2 separate regions of the Homo sapiens genome follow, and region 2 is linked to region 1. Evidence: promoter capture Hi-C in human tissues and cell types (Jung and others, 2019). All regions are on one chromosome and are shown on one strand. Each heading gives the region's core, a stretch centred on a gene start or on the middle of the fragment in contact. The rest is flanking DNA. Distances are from core to core; before and after follow the strand shown.

What was found. Contacts are between HindIII fragments. The study calls those that stand out against the background at their distance.
Region 2: a fragment that was not itself captured here is called in contact with the fragment with the promoter of LALBA in region 1 in 1 of the 25 tissues and cell types used here (aorta).

What each region holds. Positions count from the first base shown.
Region 1 is chr12:48,568,427-48,572,057 of GRCh38, reverse strand. It overlaps LALBA (lactalbumin alpha), which reads left to right and starts at 2,012. Exons shown (of 4, transcript NM_002289.3): 1 at 2,012-2,170; 2 at 2,818-2,976; 3 at 3,466-3,541. The coding sequence starts at 2,038. The HindIII fragment of the contact is 2,890 bases long and covers 401-3,290 here.
Region 2 is chr12:48,309,630-48,313,260 of GRCh38, reverse strand. No RefSeq gene overlaps it. Among named protein-coding and RNA genes, the nearest start is that of H1-7, 18 kb to the left of the region's middle. The HindIII fragment of the contact is 3,871 bases long and covers 1-3,591 here.

The DNA of each region.
Region 1 (3,631 bases), core at 763-3,262:
TCAAGGTCACTCTCAGCCATATTCTCAACAAAGCTTAGAGTGATAGAATTCCCATTCCTGTCGTGTACCCTTGCAGTGCCTCTGGGTGGAATGCGGAGAAATGGAGTGGCTCCACTTCTGTTGTGTTTCTGAACATGTATCTCTTGCTATCAGAACTTTCTGCTCATCCCTTCTGGCACACCAAGATCCTCCACATTCCCTTCACTCATGCCACTTCATATACTGGTTATCCATGGTACAGAAGACAGGATTTAACTGAGAGGACTTTTCCCTGACTCTGAATACATGTAGGAGATAACGATATGGAAGACCTTCAGTATGTAAGTCTTAAATAGATTGGTTGGGATAAATGTTCCCTGAAACATAAGAAACAGCGCAGCGGCTCCTGTCTGTAATCCTAGCACTTTGGGAGGCCGAGGCCCAGGCAGGCAAATTGCCTGAGCTCAGAAGTTTGAGACCAGCCTGGCCAACATGCAGAAACTCCGTCTCTACTAAAAATACATAAATTAACCGGGCATGGTAACACGTGCCTGTAGTCCCAGCTACTCGGGAGGCTGAGGCAGGAGAATCACTTGAGCCTGGGAGGCAGAGGTTGCAGTGAGCCAAGATCGCGCCACTGCATTCCAGCCTGGGCAACAGAGTGAGACTTGGTCAAAAAAAAAAAAAAAAAAGGAAGAAGAAGAAGAAATCAGGTTTAGAGATGAGGACAAAGAAGACGAATGGTGGCATGAAGGAGCTAAGAGCTACTTGTCACCATGACATGAAGCTTCATGCCAGCAAATTAAAGGAGCTATTCAGAACTAGTATCCTCAACTCTACTTGCTCAGGGGCACTGACCTTATAGAGATTCCAGACATAAGCTTGTTCAGCCTTAAAGTCCAATCTTTCCACTGGCTTGGGTCCTTCCCACTTTCTGTGGCCAACTCTGAGGTTGTCTACAAGTTATTGGTCTTAGATTTATGTAATGTCTCAATGCCAGTGTAGTATTTGGTTATTTACGGTAGGAGTGGTTAGGGGTGGGGAATCTGATAATAGCTCGTAGGATAGCTAGATTCTTTTTTTTTTTTTTTTTTTTTAAAGATAGGGTCTCACTTTGTCTCCCAGGATGGATGGAGTGCAGTGGAGTGAACATGGCTCACTGCAGCCTCGACCTCCTGTGCTCAAGTGTTCCTCCTGCCTCAGCCCCTCAAGTAGCTGGGACTACAGGCACATGTCACCATGCCCAGCTAATTTTTTTTGTAGAGATGGGATTTTACCATGTTGCCCAGGCTGGTCTCGAGCTCCTGGGCTCAAGTGATCCACCAGACTCGGCCTCCCAAAATGCCGGGATTACAGGTGTGAGCCACTGTGCCTGGCCTAGATGCTTTCATACAGGCTTTTCAATTATGCATTTTCCTTAAGTAGGAAGTCTTAAGATCCAAGTTATATCGGATTGTTGTAGTCTACGTTCCCATATTCTATTCCTATTTCTGAGCCTTCAGTCATGAGCTACCATATTAAAGAACTAATTCTGGGCCTTGTTACATGGCTGGATTGGTTGGACAAGTGCCAGCTCTGATCCTGGGACTGTGGCATGTGATGACATACACCCCCTCTCCACATTCTGCATGTCTCTAGGGGGGAAGGGGGAAGCTCGGTATAGAACTTTATTGTATTTTCTGATTGCCTCACTTCTTATATTGCCCCCATGCCCTTCTTTGTTCCTCAAGTAACCAGAGACAGTGCTTCCCAGAACCAACCCTACAAGAAACAAAGGGCTAAACAAAGCCAAATGGGAAGCAGGATCATGGTTTGAACTCTTTCTGGCCAGAGAACAATACCTGCTATGGACTAGATACTGGGAGAGGGAAAGGAAAAGTAGGGTGAATTATGGAAGGAAGCTGGCAGGCTCAGCGTTTCTGTCTTGGCATGACCAGTCTCTCTTCATTCTCTTCCTAGATGTAGGGCTTGGTACCAGAGCCCCTGAGGCTTTCTGCATGAATATAAATAAATGAAACTGAGTGATGCTTCCATTTCAGGTTCTTGGGGGTAGCCAAAATGAGGTTCTTTGTCCCTCTGTTCCTGGTGGGCATCCTGTTCCCTGCCATCCTGGCCAAGCAATTCACAAAATGTGAGCTGTCCCAGCTGCTGAAAGACATAGATGGTTATGGAGGCATCGCTTTGCCTGAATGTGAGTTCCCTGCCTCTGTGTTTCATCCATTCCTCATACGCTTCTCTCCTCCATCCCCTCTTTCTTCCACTTCGCCCCTCCACTTTTACTTAATTATCTAATCATCCTCTTTTCTGCTCATTTGCATACTCTTTTATTTCATGTATGTATATATGTATGTATTTATTTATTTTTGAGGTGGAGTTTCGCTCTTGTTGCCCAGACTGGAGTGCAATGGTGTAATCTCGGCTCACTGCAACCTCCGCCTCCTCGGTTCAAGTGATTCTCCTGCCTCAGCCTCCCAAGTAGCTGGAATTACAGGCACCCACCACCATGCCTGGCTAATTTTGTATTTTTTGTAGAGACAGGGTTTCACCATGTTGGCCAGGCTGGTCTCAAACTTCTGACCTCAGGTGATCCGCCCTCCTCAGCCTCCCAAAGTGTTGGGATTACAAGCGTGAGCCATCATGCCTGGCCCCATTTATTTTCCTATCCTTTCTTTCTCTTATTGTCTGATTTTTTTTTGGAATTCTCCATCTCATCAAGAAACTCTGAGCTTTGCCATCTTTGGAGATTGGCTGGAAAGCATTTTTGTCTGAGAATTACAGTTCCTCCTTTATGCAGATCCTGTACATCTCTGTGGTATCTCTTTCTCATCTTTCCCTCAGTGATCTGTACCATGTTTCACACCAGTGGTTATGACACACAAGCCATAGTTGAAAACAATGAAAGCACGGAATATGGACTCTTCCAGATCAGTAATAAGCTTTGGTGCAAGAGCAGCCAGGTCCCTCAGTCAAGGAACATCTGTGACATCTCCTGTGACAGTGAGTAGCCCCTATAACCCTCTTTCTCTGTTTTTCTGAGGCCTGCCCTTGGGATAATCTCCTTTTTAGTGCCAAGCAGACCTCAGGCTTCATTGCCTTGGCTGGGCTCTATAAAAATTGTGGGACTTGAATTGGCAGTACTGAGTAAGAAGCTGTTTGGATTTTTCATGGTCATCAAATCCCCAGACAGTTCCTTGAGGTTCAGTGGTAGACAATCGGAGCTGTCTGAGAGTCTTGGAATCTGATTGTCTGCATTTTCAGGGTAAGTCAGTTGATGAAGCTGATGATTCCTCCAGAGATATCCCAGGGAAATGAAGGAAGTCCCTACCCAGGGTTAGACATTACCACATTGGTCCTTTCATATAGAAAGACAACAGGCACAAGCCTTGAGTTTAGAGAACCCACTGGATCCAGGGGTTAGGGGAACTCAGTGCCTTTCTGGGTAATACTTGTCAGCTGTCTCAATCCTTTCCCTGTAACTCCTGCCAGAGTTCCTGGATGATGACATTACTGATGACATAATGTGTGCCAAGAAGATCCTGGATATTAAAGGAATTGACTACTGGTGAATCCTTATTCTATTTTCTATTTCCCCATCCTCCTTCTCCTTACCCCATTAGCCCAGCACCCCTTTCCTCTTACCCTATCTCTTGGT
Region 2 (3,631 bases), core at 407-2,906, 260 kb after region 1:
GAGAATCACTTGAACCCGGGAGGTGGAGATTGCAGTGAGCCAAGAGCTGAGATCGAACTACTGCACTCCAGCCTGGGAGACAGAGCAAGACCCTGTCTCAAAAAATTAGAAAATTAAAAAATAAGTAACAGAAGAAAAAAGTGAAAAAAATAATTCTTTTAGAATCAGATTTGACCCAGCAATCCCATTACTGGGTATGTACCCAAAGGATTATAAATCATTCTACTATAAAGACACATGCACACATATGTTTATTGCAGCACTACTCACAATAGCAAAGACTTGGAACCAACCCAAATGTCCATCAGTAATAGACTGGATAAAGAAAATATGGCACATAATACCATGGAATACTATGCAGCCATAAAAAGGATGAGTTCGTGTCCTTTGCAGGGACATGGATGAAGCTGGAAACCATCATTCTCAGCAAACTATCACAAGAACAGAAAACCAAACACCGCATGTTCTCACTCATAACTGGGAGTTGAACAATGAGAACACGTGGACATAGAGAGGGGAACATCACATACCGGGGCCTGTCGGGGGACTGGGGATTAGAGGAGGGATAATATTAGGAGAAATACCTAATGTAGGTCACGAGTTGATGGGTGCAGCAAACCACCATAGCACGTGTATACCTATGTAACAAAACTGCACGTTCTGCACATGTACTCCAGAACTTAAAGTATAATTAAAAAAAAAAAAAGAATCAGAGACCTCTGAGATATTATTTTTTAAAAAACATGTTTGTGTTACAAAAGTTCCAGAAGGAGAGGAGAAAGACATTGGAATAGAAGAAAATATGTATTTTAATAAATAATGGTTGAAAACTTCCCTAATTTGGTAAAAGGCATAAACTGACAGATCCATGAAGTACAGCAAAACCCAAATGTATCAACTTAAAGAAAACCACAGTCAGACAACATAATCAAACTGTGTAAGATAACTGGGAAAAGATATGGAAAAAAAAACTTGGAAGCAGACAAATAAATATAAGATTCAAATGATTGCATTGAGGCCAGAAATACGAGGAACATTTAAAAATGACTAGTAATTGGTCTACACGGCTTGTAAAATCTCTTCTATGGGTTGTAATTTGAATACGATATTTCCAACAACTGGATAAGCGATTGTACACACACAAAAAAGGAGATACTGAATAATTCACTAAAGCTTAATGCCTTCTCTGCATGAAAAAGATTAGAAAGCAAAAGAAAAGCCCTTACAATTCTCTAGGGCAGCGATTCTCAGAATACTGTCCTTATACTCGTCAGGAAACCAAACACTTTGGAGGAAATGCCACAAAGTCAAAACTATTTTCATAATAATTCTAAGACATTACCCACCTATGTTGACATTTACACTGATGGCACAAAACCAACAGTGGGCAAAATTCTGGCCTCCTAGCATAAATCACTGTATTCTTCATCACCACACACTCACAGGGAAGAAGAGAAAAAAAAGCAAGTTTAATTTTCAATATTTTTGATGAAGCAATAAAAATTATTAATTGTACTAAATTTCAACTTTTGAGTACTGTCTTCATCTGAAAAATCACAGTTCAGTGGGAAGATGCCACCTAAAAAGTCTAAGATCCTTGCCCCAAATGGACTGTGAGAACAAAAAGAGGGTATGTTTGAGTCCCACTGCTCTGAATTTCAAGATTTACAGTCAAACTCACAGGATGGCAGTTGTTTATCTGCCCTTAACTAGCATTTGGTCTGCTCAGGACCCTCCCTGTCACCAAACAGGAAACGCAAGAAAGGGAGTGTTGGCTGCCTGGCTGCTGACAAGCTAATCACAGGACTCAGTGACCTTCAATGAAGAGGGCTTTACTGGACTCATCTCAGTGAAACCTGCACAGGAATGAGATACAGGAGAACTACCAACGTGGTATCACTTAGGCATCATATGGGCAAACTCCGTTTGATCTCTTGGTTAGAGAAAGAAGATGAGTTGATGACAGAAGATGAAATTTCCCAAGTATTTGTATGTTCTACTTAAAAATCAAAGGGTCAAATCTTAAGTAGGACATTTTTAGGTAAAATGTAAAAGTCAACACAATTGTGCAAAAATGGAGATAAGTCATCTTAGAGAAACACTCAATGAATATCATCAGTGCAAGGTCTAACCTTATTCAACACAAGAAAATTCAAACTGGTGAATTTTCTGCTCTGCATATAACTAATATGAAAAATGTTTCAGTAGTAACTCTTAATTTCTGAGGTACATGTGAATACAAAATGGAGATAAACCTTATGAATGTAAGGACTGCAGAAGGCCTTCAGTTATCACTCATCCCTTTGGATACATATTATAATTCACATTAGAATAAAGCACAATGACAGTAAGCAGCATTTTCAAGTCTTTAGCATTAGATCTGTCCTTAGAGGAGAGAAGAGAATACTGAGGAGAATCTCTATAAATGTGATTGATACAGAAAAGTTTTCAGTGTAAGTTCTACTCCCATTGTGTTCATGAGAATTCACACTGGGGAAAAACCCTGTAACTGTCATGATTATACTGGAAAAATATTCAGGAAGCACTCACGTTTGATGTACACGAGAGCGCAAACTGGGGAGCTCAAACTGGGGACATATTGATTACAGCTTTTCCCTTACAGTGTACAAGAGAATACAAAATAGAATGCAAAGATGGTGGGAAAGCCTTTAGTATTACTTCATCCCTTAGAAAACATGAGAAACCACACTAGTGAAAAGCCCTATGAATGTAATCAGTACAAAAAATCCTTCCAATATAATCCTTCATTTACCACACATAAGAGTATATAATGGGGAGAATCCCTATGAATGTGGAAAAGCACGTATTGATCTTTCATCTGTTAGGCACATGAGACAATTTATATTAGACATCTTATGAATGTAACCAATGAGTACGGGACAATTTCTCTGTCCTTAGGTAATCAATGAGCAGTTGCAGCAAAGAGAAACACTTCGAATGTCATCAGTGTGAATGAGCCTTTCATTTTGCACAAGACAAATCACACAACAGGAATATATAAGCAATGGGTATCCTTCATCCATTGGAGAAGAATCTTTTAATATAATCAGCAAGGCTGGCTTCATGGGCATGTTACTACACAGGGCTTCAAGCTTGGGTTTTAATGCTGAAGTTGCCGTCTTACAATTCTTAATTTAGTTTTGAATTTGTGTTTTGTAAGTGAAGTCTTATGGAACCATGTAACATGTACTAGAAGCCCTAAAGCTCATGCAAAGACCTCCCGCCACCTCCTCCATTACTGGGGAAAGATTCTATATAACCATATACACAAGACCTCTAAAATTATTTTTACAGATAAATAGTATACAAAAATGTTTTTTTCACACTAATATATACAAGTATGCCAAAAAGAGACACAGCCTTCTTTACAAATCCCAAAATAAATAAACTCATGGATCCAAGGACTTAGGCTAGAAATATGAATCATGTAACAATACTGCAACCACAAGCCTGCTACAAAACTTAACAGATAAAAGAGCTAACTTTACAAAGCACCTAAATTGGTTCAGAAGTTATACTCTTTAAAACAGAGAATTCTATTAATACACTGTGCTAGATAAACATTGATCTAGCACTAATTGCCACAGGATGACAGCAAGTCCTAGAAACA